Linked DNA regions of Homo sapiens: regions 1 and 3 are each linked to region 2. Evidence: promoter capture Hi-C in human tissues and cell types (Jung and others, 2019). All regions are on one chromosome and are shown on one strand. The core of a region is centred on a gene start or on the middle of the fragment in contact, and the rest is flanking DNA. Distances in the headings are between cores, read along the strand shown.

Region 1 (2,700 bases), core at 141-2,640, 110 kb after region 2:
AAATGATAAGACTTGAAAGTGAAAATTCTTGATCCATGGGCTGCAGAGTGGATGTTGTGTTATCAGGCATGAAAACAACATTCATATCCTTGTACATCTCCATCAGAGCTCTTGGGTGATCAGGTGCATTATCAATGAGCAGTAATATTTTGGAAGGAATCTTCTGAGCATTAGGTCTCAACAGTGGGCTTAAAATATTCAGCAAACTGTGATGTAAACAGACGTACTGTCATCCAGGCTTTGTTCCATTTACAGAGCACAGGCAGAGCTGATTTAGCATAATTCTTAAGGGCCCTAGGATTTTCAGAATGGTCAGTAAGCATTGGCATCAACTTAAAAGTCACCAGCTACATTAGCCCCTAAGAGAATCAGCCTGCCATTGAAGCTTTGAAGCCAGGCATTGACTTCTCTTCTCTAGCTAAGAAAGTTCGAGATGACATCTTCTTCCAGTAGAAGTCTGTTTCATCTACATCAAAAATCTCATCAGTGATCTTGCTGCAGCTTCTCCATCAGCACTTGCTGCTTCACCTTGCACTTTTATGTTACAGAGGTGGCTTCTTTCCTTAAACCTCATGAACCGACCTCTGCTAGCTTCCAACTTTTCTTCTGTTGCTTCCTCACTTCTCCCAGTTCATAGAATTAAAGAGAGTTAGGACCTTGCTCTGGGTTAGGGTTTGGTTGAGGGAATATTGTGGCTGGGTTGATTTTCCATCCAGACCACTGAACTTTCTCCATATCAGCAGGAAGACTGTTCAGCCTTATCATTCATGTAGTCGCTGGAGAAGCACCTTTAATTTCCTTCAAGAGCTTTTCATGTGCACTCACAGCTTGGCCAACTGTTGGTACAGGAGGCCTGGCTTTTCGTCCTGTCTTGGTTTTCGATGTGATTCCTCACTGAGCTTAATTATTTCCACCTTTTGAGAGATGTGTGACTCTTTCTTTTACTTAAACAGTTAGAGGTTATTGTAGTTATTAATTAGCCTAATTTCAATATGGTTGTGTCTCGGGGAATAAAGAGACCCGAGGAGAGGGAGAGAGTCAAAACCCATACTACATTTACTAAATTTACCATTTTACATGGGTGCAGTTCACGATGTTCCAAAAACAATTAGAGAGGTGAGGTCAGAGGTCCCTTATCACAGACCTCCATGACAGACGTGAAGTGAGCACGTGCTGTTTGAAAAGTATCTCCTGTAGCCTTGCTTAACATAGGATAGCGTTTGTAAAAAATGTGATATCTGCAAAGCACAATAAAGCAAAGCGCAGTAAAATGAGATGTGCCTGTGCTTTGTACCATAAACATTTTAGGTGAATCAGCAAAGGAGTAAATGCAAATATTAAAATTCACCAAGAACAGGTTGTGTTTGGGGGAATTATTGTTTTCCCTAGTAACTATATCTCTATGTTATTGGGAAATTAAAGCAGAAGACATGATACTGTACTCATCATTCACGTTTGATCTCTTCTCCTTACAGAACATTTGTAAATGGGTCATCTGTCTCCAGTCCAATACAGCTACACCATGGGGACAGGATATTATGGGGAAACAATCATTTCTTCAGGTATGATGTTGTTCATGTCCCTTAAAGAGATTGTTGAAGATTGTGCTCTGAAATAGAAAATACATGTTAAAAAGTAAACCTTTCTCTACAACAATTATGTTATTGTGTGTGTACGTATATATTTGCTGCATGTGTATTATATATGTGTGTGTGTGTTCATTCACTGTATATGGTCTGAACCCTAGGGACATATAAACAATATACTCTGGAAAAATACTGAGTTTACCTACATAGTTTTTCCCTTTTATTTCCCACTAGAAGATGATTCTTTTGCCGTGTGGTGTAAGAATTTATTAATGTTTTTCTGACATGTTTATCTTTTTTTTTATTTATTTTTTTACGGAAACGTAGTCGTGGTTTTAGTTTCCTTATCTATAAAATAAGGTTCTTTTAGGAATTCTTTTCAGCTCTAAGTCATGGCAAATTTTACTGTAATGGGTTAGACAGATCATTTATTCCCCTGACAGAACCAGAAATCTAAAGGAACATAGTTGTTAGTGTTGGCTAAGCCTCTCAAAAAAAGTCATGGCTAAAGTCTGGTCACTGTCTTGGCATCTCTCTGTGGCCTGAAGTTGGCCATGCTGCACTGCCGTCAAAGCAGCATTCAGGTACAGGAAGAAAAAGGAGAACCATAGCTGCACTAGCCCTGACTGTCCTGTTCATCCAAAAAAACAGAGAAGTCTTCCCAGAGTCCCCAGCAATCTTCTCCTTCTGTCTCCTTTGCTAGAATTTGCCTCTTAGCTACAAAGGGGGCTGAGAAAGACTGTGTCTCACCTGGGGCTGTACATGTGGTTTCCCAAACAAAATTGATGTTGTGTTGACAAGGCAGGCAGGCTGGATATTGTAAAAAGTTAACATCCTGGTCTCTTGTTATTGTCACTGGTCGGTGTGCTCCAGATGTCATACTGACTTTTCTGTAGCTAACAGAGATCCTTTGCCATGGGCCAGTGATATTTTGGTTACTGAGAAAAGGGTAGATGGGCACAAAGAGCATGGAGCATTTTTTTCCTTCCTAAATTAAATGACGTGTAAACTGCTTTGTTTTGTGTTCAAAACCCTCATCGTTTGGATTAAGCTGATCTTTCCAGCTTTAGCTCTAGTGTGCTATACAAATTTTGAATATCCCGTTGTTTTACCC
Region 2 (2,700 bases), core at 91-2,590:
TCCATCTCAAAAAAAAAAAAGTATTTTTATACTTTTTGACAACATTGCTTGTATTGAAGATACTCAATAACAGGATGGTTGGTAAAAGGGCAAGTCTTACCAGCTTTCTGTATTTACTCATCTGTAAAATGGTTCTGAGTTCTATTACTATCATTTAAACACATCTAAGCAGGGGTCACAAACCCACAAGGTCCAGGCGCATGTGTGGTAAAGCCACCTGGAGGGGGGCCGTGGTGAAGTGGAGAGACGGGTCTCTGATAAAGGTGGCTGCTGCTATTTAGTTCCAATCCACTCTGTCCAATATGTAATGTAGGCCCAGTACTGCATGCACAAATCTGATTTCACACTCTGTTACCCAAGCTGGTCTCAAACTCCTGGCCTCAAGCAATCCTCCTGCCTCAGCATCCTAAAATGCTGGGATTCCAGGTGTGAGCCCCTGCACCTGGCCACAAATCTGATTTTTATGTGTTGGCCAACACTGTTGGGCCAAACAGAACATGTTTGCGTGCTGGCTCTGGCACCCAGGCCACCTGTTAGAATGTCTGCCAGGGCTAATAAAAAGCTAATTTTAGTGTGGCCTCATTCATTAATTCATGCAATTAATGTTTATGGGTCTCTACTAAAGGCTAGGTTACACATATGTTAATCTTATTTAAAAATGTACCTATTTTACTAGGTATTAGTATCATATCCACTTTTCATATTAAAGACAAGCCCAGAGCGGTCAAATAACTTGCCCCTGGTCACACAGTGGGAAGCGCTGAGGTGGGCTTTGAACTCAGATGGTTTTCAGAGCCCAAGGTCCTGTCTCAAAGGAGGGGGACTCACAGGACAATGTTAACCCGTGGACCTATGGACACTCCCAGAAAACGTGATTTGCAACTTGTCGTGAAGGACGAGCTCAGCAAACAAGGCCGGACGTCAATCCAGGCAGAGGAAATAACTTGAGCCAGGGATCAAACACTAAGATTGGCAGGAAATGAGCAGGAAGAGGTAGCGGGGTCCCTGACGCCATCTATTCAATTGTTTTTCAGAAGAGGTATCAGCTCTTGAAGGCTTACTTCTCAATACTGGCTGCGAGAGCAAGAATGGTGTGTAATTTACAAAAGCCGTCATTGCTGTAGGTAAGTTGTAGCAAACGACTCGCGCCCGAGCATTCCCGCCCCCGCCTTCGCTGCGGCCCCGCCCACGACGACCCTGGGGAACTACAAGTCCCGCCATACAGCGGGGAGCGCCCGGAGCTCGCGCCGGCCCCGCCCCCAGCCCGGTCCCCACCCCCGGCTCCGCCCCCGGCCCCCTCCCGCCGGGTCAACCCCGAAGAGTCGCCGGTGGCCGCGGCAGACGGAAGCCGAACGAGTTCCTCGGCGGCTGCAGGATGGGGGACTCCAAAGTGAAAGTGGCGGTGCGGATACGACCCATGAACCGGCGAGGTGAGAGCCGAGCCCTCCTGGGCCGCCGGGGCGGAGGCGGCAGGTGCCTGGCGCGCCCTTCCCTCGGCCGCCGTGGGGGGTCCGGCGGCCCCGCCCCTATAGTCAGCGGCGGGGCGCGAGGAGGGGCCCGGGGACCCTGAAACCCGCTCCCGCGCTGAGACGCCCGGCTCCCTCTTCTCCCCTCCCTTCCCCCCTGGCCAGCCCCGTCCCTGGCGCCGTCGGGCCCCTCGTGCCGGCCCCGCTGCCCCTTCCGCCTGCGCCCGCCCCGCCCCTGCGCCCTTTTGCCCTCTCGTCTCCCCCGGAGGTTCCCGAGGGCGCCCTCGGCCCTCGCGCCCAGCCTCGTCCTGGCCCCTCAGCCTCGCTCCTTCCCCGCCAGCTGTCATCGTCGCCCCCGCGCGCGGGTCGCCAGCCCCTGCAGCCCGCCTCGGGACCGCCCGGGACCCCCCGGGACCCCGCGTCTCGCCCGGGTCGCCCAAGCCTGCACCGCCTTGGCCCGCGGCGGGAAGAAGGGCAGGGGGCCAGGCGGGTGCCCCGCGGCGAGTTCCTTCCACCTGGGCGTCCTGAGATTGGGGTCAGGTGGAGGAGATGCCCTTTTCGTTGTTTTTGGACAGTTGAGAAAGTTTTGGTTTTGCCTGAAGTCTCATTCATCATCTCTCAATAAATAGCTAAAGTGCCAAGATTCTTGTGGAATTGTATCTTTCTGACATTCTCTTAACTCTGCAGGGAGTGTAGAGAAGGCAGATAAACCGAGTACATTTAAATAATCTGTAGACCCGGGGAGTGGAGAGAACCCCAAAAGTCAGGGGAGGAGGTGGGCTGGGTCTTGGCTTTGATAGTCAAAGCAGCATGACTGGGTGAGTTGCTTTAAATAAGATAATGTGTTTGAAAACGCTTTATATACAAGGTCCTGTCATTGGGGGTCACTATTACTGTCTCAGGAGATGACTTTGCCATTGATGAGACTTTGAACTAATTAGAATCATTTAAGTACCAGAGACAAAGTTGTAGCTTCTTAGCAAAATCAAGTGTTGTTTAATTTTTATGTAGAAATTATAGGTTGTTTTCCTCTTCTTTGCTTTCTTTTGTATATATTGAGACATACAGATCAACCAGTTGACATAAGCTTTGTTGGTTTGTCCTTCTCGGGGAAATTGGTTTCTCGCTTGGAGTTATCTCATCTATGGGAATTGTTTTGTCCTGTTCCTGCTAGGTCCGATTAAAGCTGTCAGGTGAGTTTTTTTCCCTAAGAACTTAATTACTTTAAGTTCTC
Region 3 (2,700 bases), core at 127-2,626, 96 kb after region 2:
ACAGCTGCAAACAAGTCATTTATTGTCTCAGGGTTTCCATAGGTCAGGACTCCGGGTGCGTGTGGCTTAATGACGTGGCTCTAGCCGGGTTGTTTCACATGGATGTAATTAAAGTGTTGGGGATGGGGGGCTGCCGTCATCATCATCTCAAGGCATGACCGGTGTGGGGAGGTGTCTGCTCACTTACATGGTTGTCAGCAGGGTCCAGAAGATCTGCTTCCAAACTCGTGCCTGTGGGCCTCTCTTCGTAGGGCCACCTCACTTCACGGCAGCCCGTTTCCCCCAGAGTGAAAGAAAACACCCAAGACAGAAGCCACCATCTTCTTTGAATCTACCCTTAGAGGTGACATGCCATCACTTTCATTCCTTGGAGACCGATGAATAAGTCCTGGCCACCCTCAAGGGAAGCAGAGAGTACTAGGGTGTGGGCGCCAGGAGGTCGCCTGCATAGGCAGCCTTGTCTGTGGTGCAGCAGAGCGCAGTGGGCTTGATGCCCCAAGTCTTCTTTTGTGCTTGAGTTAAATCTCTATTTTTAATGTTCTCAAGTGAGGGTGGTTTTTCATTCTGTTGGAAGCCAGTCGGTCCTAAAGCCGTTTCACTGTACTTAGCAGTTTGAGTGTCATGAAGACAGTATCTCTTCTCAGGACCATTGTCTGAACGGTGGAAGTGCTTCTGTAGAACTTGCAATCTTAGTAGCTTTTGAAGTGCTATCAGAGCGAAGAAAATGAAGTTGCTTTAACATACTTTTTTGTGAGACTATAATTGTACCTTATGTTTTAAAAACTTTACAAGGTGCTTGATAGCTTGTAACAGCAACTTTCTGAGCCATTATTAGGCTTCACAGAGACTCCCAGTACAGGGGGTTGTGGAGGAGGTTGCCAAGTAAGTATCATGCTTGTTCCTCTAAGGAGGAAGATGTTGGAGGCATTTAAGGAGTCCTTTTTTATTCCGAGTAGTCTGTGTTCTTGTGGTATCATCTTGCCTATAAAATAGGGCAGATGACTTAGAATTAATTTGTGTTAAACCGAAATAAAGGTAGGTTTCATGACATTTCCCCGTCCTTTATCAAAGGCTAAAACTCCCTATTTTTAGTGCAATGGCTTGGCAGAGAAGAAACAGCACAGGACTCGAGTCCATACACCTGCATTTTAGCCCTGGCTCTGTCATTGAATGTGTTTGACCTGGGGAAATTTGTTCACCATTTTTGATTTCAGGTTTCTCATATGACGTCTTCTTCCAACTTTAATATGCTACTCAACTTTCTGTTTTCTCCTGTAGGACAGCCTCGGGGGTAACAGCAAGACCGCCATGGTGGCTACTGTGAGTCCTGCAGCTGATAACTATGATGAAACCCTCTCAACTCTGCGGTATGCAGATCGAGCCAAGCACATTGTAAACCACGCTGTGGTGAATGAGGACCCTAATGCCCGAATTATCCGGGATCTCCGGGAAGAAGTTGAGAAACTCCGGGAGCAGCTGACCAAAGCAGAGGTAGGAGGCACCACCGCGTGCGCCCTGTGAGTCCAGGAAGAGGAATCAGCCTAGAGCTTGAATTTCCTTCCCCTGGGCTGTGAGGGATGAGTACTCTACTTAAAATTTGCGAATTTCTTACAGCAAGAGAACTTTGGGATGAGTAATAAATAAAGGAAGGTTGTCATATTAGAATTCCAAAGAGGTTTTACAGATGTTAAAAAGATTGAACAGGAGCAAATAGAATTGAGAAAATGTTTGCATTTCTATTCAGGCGGCAGACAAAAGAGAGAGGTATAATAGAATAGGAGAGGAAGAGAGATGCTGGAGACCATGTGTATGTAATTTTAATTTTTGTGCAGAAAATGATGGAGAGCAGGATTTTTGTTGAATCTCATTTGTTACCTGGTAGAAGTCGGAATGAAAATCTTGAGTCTTCTACACCTTCATAATCTAGCTTTTCCATGTTGTGGATTAATTACGTTTGTAGAAAATATTTTGTAGTAGAAGTACCCATGTATTTAGTGGTACTCTATTACAGCTGTTTTCTGTGTATTCTGTAATGGATAATGTTGCATTAATAAATTTGAAAACCTACCAACTCTGACCTGCAATCCCAAGTGCTCATCTTCTTGGGAAAGTGGAATGAAATATTAGATTCAGGATTCCTACTTTTTTTTTTTTTTTTTGAGGTGGAGTTTCACTCTTGTTGCCCACGCTGGAGTGCAATGGTGTGATCTCAGCTCACTGCAACCTCTGCCTCCTGGGTTCAAGTGATTCCCCTGCCTCAGCCTCCTGAGTAGCTGGGATTACAGGCGCACGCCACCACGCCCAGCTAATTTTGTAGTTTTTATAGAGACAGGGTTTCTCCATGTTGGTCAGGCTGGTCTTGAACTTGAACTCCTGACCTCAGGTGATACGCCCGCCTCGGCCTCCCAAAGTGCTGGGATTACAGGCGTGAGCCACCGTGCTCGGCCAGGATTCCTACTTTCATTAGCATTTCTCTTCCCACAGTTACTCAGCACTGTGGGGCTCTTTCTGGAGTTTGCTTTCTTTCTCATACCTGTTTTCTGGGAATAAATCAGTAAGAGACATGGTCAGGATGATTATCTTGATCGTATTTTTACCTGTTGAATTTTATCCTGTTTTTATAGGAATAATTTTATAGTCCATGAAGACTGTTGTCTCCTTGGTGTTAATAACACCATCCAGTCTGCAACATGTACACAT

What was found. The method cuts DNA at HindIII sites, captures the fragments that hold promoters and counts their contacts. A contact is called where the count stands out against the background at its distance.
Region 1: a contact is called between a fragment that was not itself captured here and the fragment with the promoter of KIF13B in region 2, in 4 of the 25 tissues and cell types used here (H1 embryonic stem cells, IMR-90 fibroblasts, dorsolateral prefrontal cortex and 1 more).
Region 3: a contact is called between a fragment that was not itself captured here and the fragment with the promoter of KIF13B in region 2, in 2 of the 25 tissues and cell types used here (bladder and lymphoblastoid cells).

Annotation. Positions count from the first base shown.
Region 1 is chr8:29,149,159-29,151,858 of GRCh38, reverse strand. It overlaps KIF13B (kinesin family member 13B), which reads left to right. Exons shown (of 40, transcript NM_015254.4): 15 at 1,476-1,562. Among named protein-coding and RNA genes, the nearest start is that of KIF13B, 110 kb to the left of the region's middle. The HindIII fragment of the contact is 7,540 bases long and covers 1-2,700 here.
Region 2 is chr8:29,261,710-29,264,409 of GRCh38, reverse strand. KIF13B (kinesin family member 13B) reads left to right here and starts at 1,340. Exons shown (of 40, transcript NM_015254.4): 1 at 1,340-1,430. The coding sequence starts at 1,376. RefSeq lists a silencer at 1,133-1,962. The HindIII fragment of the contact is 11,996 bases long and covers 1-2,700 here.
Region 3 is chr8:29,166,164-29,168,863 of GRCh38, reverse strand. It overlaps KIF13B (kinesin family member 13B), which reads left to right. Exons shown (of 40, transcript NM_015254.4): 11 at 1,279-1,491. Among named protein-coding and RNA genes, the nearest start is that of KIF13B, 96 kb to the left of the region's middle. The HindIII fragment of the contact is 8,522 bases long and covers 1-2,700 here.